Regions from separate parts of the Homo sapiens genome. Here region 1 is linked to region 2. Evidence: promoter capture Hi-C in human tissues and cell types (Jung and others, 2019). All regions are on one chromosome and are shown on one strand. Each heading gives the region's core, a stretch centred on a gene start or on the middle of the fragment in contact. The rest is flanking DNA. Distances are from core to core; before and after follow the strand shown. Region 1 holds the start of LOC124900423 (small nucleolar RNA SNORA72). Region 2 holds the start of SLC41A1 (solute carrier family 41 member 1).

Region 1 (3,820 bases), core at 197-2,696, 82 kb after region 2:
AATAATACAGAAAATGGTCGTGTTTGCATTATGATCATCATACTATTTTTCATGGCATTTGTCATTAAAAAATCACTGTTTTGCCAGAACATGGCAGGCATTTCCATAGTAGCCCAAAAATATTAGATTTTTTCATAGTCATATTTTTAAGAAAGAAAATATATTTTTATTGTAATAAAATATGCTTAGCATAAAATTTACCATCTTAACTTTTTTTTTTTTTTTTGAGACAGAGTCTTGCTCTGTTGCCAGGCTGGAGTGCAGTGGTGCGATCCCTGCTCACTGCAACCTCTGTCTCCCAGGTTCAAGCAATTCTCCTGCATCAGTCTCCCAAGTAGCTGGCACTACAGGCACGCACCACCACGCCCAGCTAATTTTTGTACTTTTACTAGAGACGGGTTTTCACCATGTTGGCCAGGATGGTCTCGATCTTTTGACCTCATGATCCGCCCACCTTGGCCTCCCAAAGTGCTGGGATTACAGGCATGAGCCACTGTGCCCGGCCCATGTTAACCATTTTTAAGTGTATAGTTCAGTATTGTTAAGTACTTGACATTGTTGTAAAGAACTCTTAATCTTGCAAAACTGAAACTAAACCCACTAAACAACAGCTCCTCATCCCCACTCTTCCAGCCTCTGGCAACCACCACTCTACTTTCTGTCTCTCTGAATTCATCTACTCTAGGTCCCTCATGTACATGGAATTAATAGTCATATTTAAAGTTAGCTTTCCTAATAATATAGTATCTTTGGTAATATAAACTCAGCTTCTTACAATAAAATATATAGTTGGAGTATATTTTATAGTTTTGTTAAACTAAAGAAAAACAGAAGGTGGAACTCCTTAAGAGCCTTGTTTTTTCTCTTTCTAATGCTGAGTATGTAACTATATATTCCTCTACATATAAGCCCAAGCCTTTTTTTCCAGAATTCACCTCCATCCATACCATCTCCACATACTATACTAGAAGGTGGACCAGTGTTTGCAGTCTGACCATCCTGTCTTTGAATTTAAATGGTGTCTTAATCTATACAGCCAAGAATATCCCTCTGCTCAGGTTTAAGTATAGGTGGTAATGTATATTTATCTTAAATTTTTTTTTTTTTTTTGAGACGGAGTCTCTCTCTTTCGCCCAGGCTGGAGTGCAGTGGCGTGATGTTGGCTCACTCACTGCGAGCTCTGCCTCCCGGGTTCAAGCCATTCTCCTGCCTCAGCCTCCCGAGTAGCTGGGACTACAGGCGCCCGCCACCACACCCAGCTAATTTTTTAGTATTTTTAGTGGAGACGGGGTTTCACCACGTTGGCCAGGATGGTCTCAATCTCCTGACCTCGTGATCTGCCCGCCTCGGCCTCCCAAAGTGGTGAAATTATAGGCGTGAGCCACTGCGCCTGGCCTATTTCTCTTAATTTTTTAAGTTCACTTGATCAATTTAGGCCTACAGTAACAGTGCATTTTTTAATCTAAGGCTCTTTTGCCAGGTAGGCTGTTTGGGTACTAACATGGAAGCTTACATGTATATCTCTAGAGAAGAAGTATTAAACTTTTAGATTTAGAGTGCAGAGTACAAAAATAGAAATGAAGATTTGTTTGAGATGTTAAAGATACGTTACTTGATAGGGAGTACTTAAAGTCATTTAGAGTCAAATAGATTCTGCAGATATTCTCACTGTTTTGATTTTGTAATAGTCAGGACAGGCTAACCATTCACTTTATTAAGACCATGCATATATCCCCAGAACTAGTTCTTTCCTGAGGTCTAGTTTTATAAATGTTGCTGATAAACCAGGTCTGTAAAATTGGAAAAGGAAAAAAAAAGTTTAGAAACAAAAGAATAGAGTCAAATACATAGATGTACATAAATCTGTGAGGCTTTCATAGTTTTTTAAATAAAGCATCTTTTGACTGGACCAATTAATTTGTTTCCTTCCCCTTCTGTATAAAGCTTAACATTACCATAATTTTTGTGCATTATAATGTAACTGTACTATACCTAAAAATTGCTTTTGCCTTGAAAAGCTTAGTAATAACCTTGTTTATCAAGTATACATATATATGTGTGTAGCAGTAAGAGTAAAATATCATTTACAACTTTAGCTTATAAATAGGGCATCTTTGTATATAATGAATACATAGGTACATGGTGATTTGGCTCATTTTGCTGTTTTATGTATATTTGTTTTGAGAGACGGGAGATTGTTTTGTAGAAAAGAATGGTATTTGAGACCGGGCACGGTGGCTCACGCCTGTAATCCCAGCACTTTGGGAGGCCAAGACGGGCGGATCACGAGATCAGGGGAGACCAGCCTGGCCAACATGGTGAAACCCCGTCTCTACTAAAGATACAAATATTAGCCAGGCGTGGTGGCACACGCCTGTAATCTCAGCTACTCGGGAGGCTGAAGCAGGAGAATCGCTTGAACTTGGGAGGCAGAGGTTGCAGTGAGCCAAGATCTCGCCATTGCACTCTAGCCTGGGCGACAGGGCAAGACTTCATCTCAAAAAAAAAAAAAGAGAGAGAAAAGAATGGTATTTGAATTATCACTGAGATGAGCAGTATGAGAATTGTAGCTTGACATACTTGTGGTTTATGCTATGCTTTCTTATAACAGAATGTTAAGTACTTAGGCTTAAGTGGGGGCCTTTAAAAAATAATTTTTGGCTGGGTGCAGTGGCTCGTGCCTGTAATCCCAGCACTTCGGGAGGCTGAGGCAGGATGACTACCTGAGCTCAGGAGTTTGAGACCAGCCTGGGCAACACCAGGAGACCCTGTCTCTACAAAAAATGAAAAAAAATTAGCCAGCATGCGTCTGTAGTCCCAGCTACTCAGGAGGCTGAGGCAGGCGGATTACTTGGGCCCAGTAGGTCAAGGTTGCAGTGAGCCATGATTGTGTCACTGCTCTCCAGCCTAGGCGACAGAGTGACACCCTGTCTCAAAAAATTAATTAAATAATTTTCTTTTTTTTTCTTTTCTTTTTTTTTTTTGAGATGGAGTTTCACTTTTGTTGCCCAGGCTGGAGTGCAATGGAGGTATCTCGGCTCACCACAACCTCTGACCCCTGGGTTCAAGTGATTCTCCTACCTCAGCTTCCCAAGTAGCAGGGATTACAGGCATGCACCACCACGCTTGGCTAATTTTGTGTTTTTAGTAGAGACAAGGTTTCTCTATGTTGGTTAGGCTGATCTCAAACTCCCAACCTCAGATGATCCACCAGCCTTGGCCTCCCAAAGTGCTGGGATTACAGGTGTGAGCCACCACGTCCAGCAATTAAATAATTTTCAAAGTGCTAGTTCAGTTCTGTTTATGAAAGAGAAATGTGTGTTCTGATGTCTTAGAAAAATCCTACAGTTTTATGATTTTAATTAGAGTCTCTTCTTTCTACAGAAATAGGAAGGTTGTTGATTACTCACAGTTTCAGGAATCTGATGATGCAGGTAAGTTTTGTGGTTTCAACAAATTTTAAGTTGGACTGACCAGTGGAGGTTACCAGCTTATATAGTTTTATTATGCTTTTGGAATAAGTTTTACTTTTTTATTTTTAGATCATTTACCAAAACCATGTCATGATCTGTGTCAACCAAAGCAAAAGTTGAACTTACATGGATTTTAACTTTTCCTTGGTAAATCATTGATAATAAACATTAAAAAGCTTTTTTCTTACCTGGTTTTGGAGTCCAAAGTTTAAATGTCCAGTAATTCTGATACAGTGTTCATTGCTTAAAATATCTCCTGCTGTCAGCCAGTCGCCATGGCTCATGCCTGTAATCCCAGCACTTTGGGAGGCCAAGGTGGGCGGACCACTTGAGGTCAAGAGTTCCAG
Region 2 (4,346 bases), core at 562-3,061:
TCACCAGGAGCGGATAGAAGGAGGGTATCTGGGATGCCAATAATGATCTCGTTCTAGATCTGGATGGTGGTCATATGGGGGTGTTCACTGTGTCATCATTTGTTGACCTGTACACTTAGGTTTCGTGTTCCTTTCCTAAATGCCTGGTATATTTCAATTAAAAAAATACACACAGGAGAGGGGAACAGTTTTCGAGTAAGTAAAAACACGGAAGGTAGAAAGGAAATAGGAGAGAGATCAAGATTTTATACACAGGTAGCTGAGCTGTGGCCAGATTAAATGGGGTAGTGGAGGGGAGGGAACTGTTGAATAGAACAGGGCAGAAGTTGCCTCCAGCCCAACCAAAGTTCCTCCAGATACATCAGCCTTAATTCCCCACCCAACCCCACACCCCGTATTCACAAACCTCATCTTTCTGGACAAGTCCCAGCATTTCCTAGACTAGCAGCTACTTCTCCTGGCAGAAAAACCCAGTATTTGAGGCCAAAACTGGGGTCTGAGACACTGATATTTTGCTCTAGTAGGTCCTGTGAGTCTGCAGGCCCTTGATGCAAATGCTCCAGAGCTGATCTGGAATCATCCTGGGGGTACTGGTTTGGGGTGGGTGAGGGGAACAGGGTTTGGTATGTGTATTTGTCATCCTTATCAAAAGGAATGACCTGCTCAGGTTGCTGTGTGTGCTCTTGTGAGCACGTGCCCAAAGCTTCATACACAGCACTGCGATCTCTTCTCCCCAGGCACATCTCCGCTCCAAACCCTATTCAGGGGTCTAGAGCCATGTTCGAATGCCCCCGGGCTACTTTCAGGGAGGAAAAGGACAGGAAGGAACCGTTGGTCACAGGTTCCACTGACAAGAGGGGAAAACTTGGGAGTGGGGGTTCCTTTATGAGGGAGGTCACACCCCCTGCACAAAAACATCCCAAAGAGAACTGGCATTGAGCTTGTGTTGGAGAGGTGGAGATACCCCAGGGAGGAAGTGGCGAAAGGTGAGCATGGGAACACCCCTCTTTGATCCCACAAGGTGCGTCAGGGAAAGTTGGATTTCATTTAGTCCGGGATGGTGACATCTCTCCGCACGCTGCCACCAGGCTCAGTGGGTCAGAGGAAGTGAGGCTCCCCTCCTCTCCGACCTCAGGTGATGCGTGTGCGACCCCAGCCATGGGTCTGACCTCCTTTCGCTCCCGCCCGCCAGTCTCCACCCCTTTCAAGGCCGGGACTTTTTTAAGGCCGGATTCGTCAGGGGTGAGCCATTTGCTCAAGGAACGCGGAATCTGGAGGGAGCCTAAAGTGACGAGCCGGCGGGAGAAGAGCAAGGTAGGGACTGTTCTGTCCGGGTACCAAGTGGGAGGAGGGAGCACGCGGCTGGCTGCTTGAGCCCGGGGGTCAGAGGTGGCTGGCTGGCTGGCTCCACAGGGACGTTTACCGGTCTTCCCGAAGGCCAGAGGCTCCAAGGAAACATCCAGAGGCAGGAGAGGACGCGCACTGTCGCACACGCCTCTCAAAGTCTGCTGGGGCTCCGACGCGGCGCAGCGGGCCCGGGGGCGGTAGCACCACGCAGCGAGCCCGGGCAGCGGGCCCCTCGGACCCCGGGCCGATGGGCGCTGGGACCCGCGCGCTCCAGGCGCATGGAGCCGGCTCCCGGTTCCCGTCACTCCTCCTACTGCGTTTCCCCGGCGCCCCGCCTCCTGGGCACGAAGCGAAGGAAGGGGGCCGGGCCGAGGTTGATCCCGCCCCCTCCCCAGTCCCTGATTGGCTGCTGCTGTTGTCCATCCGAGAATCTATTTTTGATGGAGCGGGGGGGGTGCCACCCAGTCTGCCCCAGATCACGTTTGCCACCGGCAGCCAACCAGTTGGGCCCGAGTCCGCGGGCAAGAAGCGATTGGGGGCGCGTGAGCTCGGCTCCCCGGTCCCCCGTCCGGGTGCCCCCCCGCCGGGCCCGAAGCGATATATCCTGCCCTCCCCGGCCACCTCCCCCGCGTGGAAGCGGAGCGGCGGCCTCGCTGTAACGCAGAAGCGAAATGTAGCGAGCCGGGTGTCGCGGCTGGACGCTCGCCTTGGCTGGGGGTGTGGGGGGGCACGCCGGGGGCCAAGGAGGACTGTCGAGGAGGAGTGATGAGAAGAGGGGGTGCCCTGCACCCCCCGAGACCACGGGCCACGCTGCCACTTGCCAGGCGCCCCCCTTCCTCCCAGGCGAGGGGCAGGTCAGTCCTGTGGGGTCCTGGGGCGGGGAGGGGGTGGTGGAGGGCGGCAGTCCTGGCGCGCAGCGCATTTGCTGAATCTGAGTGGTGGAGAGACTGAGGAGGCCACCCAGTTACTTTCTCTCCCTCCTCGGGGTTGGGGATACTAAAATGGGTCTTTTTTGTCCCCGCCTGGGAGGAGGGGATAGGGCGTCCTGGTTCACTTTTGCTTCTTTCGTCCCAGGGCCTTAGGCCTGTCTGAAGTCTCTTTACAGGGGGAGTGGTGAGGGAGGACTGGCTTCCCCTCCTGGGAGCCCCCTCTCAGGTTCAGTGGCCTGCCAGGAACACAGGAGGGAGGCGGGGGTGTCAGCTTTTAGCGGACTCAGAAACTTTTCTGGCATAGGGGCACTGGACTCAGAGGTTTCCTCCTGGATCTCTGGTGAGGGAGTTTGAAAGAACCACAGTACTGTGTTTAAGGAGATTGGAAAAGGGAGTCCTGGTGGGTGACTGAATTGATAGAGGAAACAGTTCTCCTGGGCCAGTTCCTGGGGTTTGATACCTCCTTTCCTAAACTGAACTTGACTAATTGTGTGTGTTTGGAATACTTAAGGACCTGTTCCTCTTACCTGGTGGAACTCTCTTTAAATTTATTTTTTACGAATAAGAGCTCTTCTGGTGAAATGGAATAGGATGGGAGTCCATCAGGAATTAGGAAGCCTGGGGATTCCTTTAGGCAGAGAAGTGGAGCCATTACAGCTAAAGAGATGCATTTGGAGCAAGTGCATATTGGCTTACGGTGCTTTGGTTTTTGTTTTGGGTTTTTTTTATTGCTACTTTTGTTTTTTTGTTTTTGTTTCTAAGAATTCCACTATATCCAACTCTCAGTAACCCTGGGGAACAGGAGGAGCCTAATTAACTGAAATGCGTGGGTAATAAGCAATCGTTTTATGCTCTGTCCCTTCTAACTGAGATAACTCCCTTGTCCTATCTGACAAGCTCACAGGGCCAAGAGCAGGGGGAGACGGGGAGAGACAGAGGCCTGGATCCGAGTCAGCTGTCTGAGCTCTTTGTAACACTGTTGACTCTCAAGGGCAGGAGTGGGTAGGCCTCTGGCTCTTGGCCTTGGTCTGGCAGGCTTGCCCCACTGCCCAGGGAGTCCTCCTAGCTTTGTTTTGTTTTCTCAGAAGCTAGAACGATCTGGGGTCTGGGGGACTTCACTCAGCAATCAGTTTCTCCCTATTTCTTTGCCCTGTGTGGCTGTCTTTCTGTTGCTGTCTTGTGATGATAAGCAGTCACTTTATACAGGGGTGGCTGTGTGGCAGGGAGTTTGTGACTGAATTTGTAACTGAACCCCACTTAAATAATGCAGGGTTCTTAATGGGCATTCAAGAAGGGGTCTTGCTGAGGACACACCTACCCACCCCCAGTTGCTGAGGAAACAGTGCAGAGGGCTTCTGCACAGCATCTTCCCAATCCCAGGCTGGTCACATCTCATTGCTGGTGACCACGGTGGTGATCCCTCAGGAGGGTTGCTGGTGGGGAGGATGGCGGGGATAGCTCCTGCTGAGCCTCCAGATGGAGCAGTGCAGGACTGAGTAATTTTTGCGGAAAAAGGGAGGCAAATAGCAAACTCTATAGCTATATGATGAACTCCTAACTTCCTTGGGGGGAAATTCTCCCAGTACAAGCTGTCCTTTGCTATAGTGTAATGTTCTTTTTCTTTTCTTTCTCCTTCCCACATAAGGTGTTCCACACTGATTCTCGTGACTTTAAGGACCAGGGATTTGAAGAGGTATTAGCTCTTCCCAGGAAGGGAGGAAGTTTCTGGAAGAGAAGGGAAAGACGGCAGACGCTGCGCTGGGACCAGCAGAGCCTGAGGAGCTGTGGGAAGCTGACAGAGCCCAGCCAAAGGAGCGGGAAGGAGCCGCAGCCCCAGGCTGGCACTGTGTTCTGAAAGATTTGAACTCAAGCTGCTTTTTACGGAAGAGGGGCCACTTCAGAGGGCACCCCAGAATTTGGTTGAGCTCTTCTACTCTGGATGCCCCCTGCTCTGAGGAGCCTGCCACTGAGAACCAAAGAAGATAAGAGGACAGATACTTTTTCTTCAAGCACAGAGCTGGTGGGTTGGAGTCAGGCATCTGCACCCCTAGTGGCTGTCTGGTGAGGAAT

What was found. The method cuts DNA at HindIII sites, captures the fragments that hold promoters and counts their contacts. A contact is called where the count stands out against the background at its distance.
Region 1: a fragment that was not itself captured here is called in contact with the fragment with the promoter of SLC41A1 in region 2 in 3 of the 25 tissues and cell types used here (IMR-90 fibroblasts, adrenal gland and hippocampus).

Annotation. Positions count from the first base shown.
Region 1 is chr1:205,729,186-205,733,005 of GRCh38, reverse strand. It overlaps NUCKS1 (nuclear casein kinase and cyclin dependent kinase substrate 1), which reads left to right. Exons shown (of 7, transcript NM_022731.5): 2 at 3,385-3,434. LOC124900423 (small nucleolar RNA SNORA72) reads left to right here and starts at 1,654; the gene lies at 1,654-1,785. The HindIII fragment of the contact is 6,338 bases long and covers 1-3,820 here.
Region 2 is chr1:205,810,663-205,815,008 of GRCh38, reverse strand. It overlaps SLC41A1 (solute carrier family 41 member 1), which reads left to right and starts at 1,811. Exons shown (of 11, transcript NM_173854.6): 1 at 1,811-2,201; 2 at 3,922-4,346. RefSeq lists silencers at 1,451-1,680, 1,821-2,080 and an enhancer at 1,517-2,017. The HindIII fragment of the contact is 10,091 bases long and covers 1-4,346 here.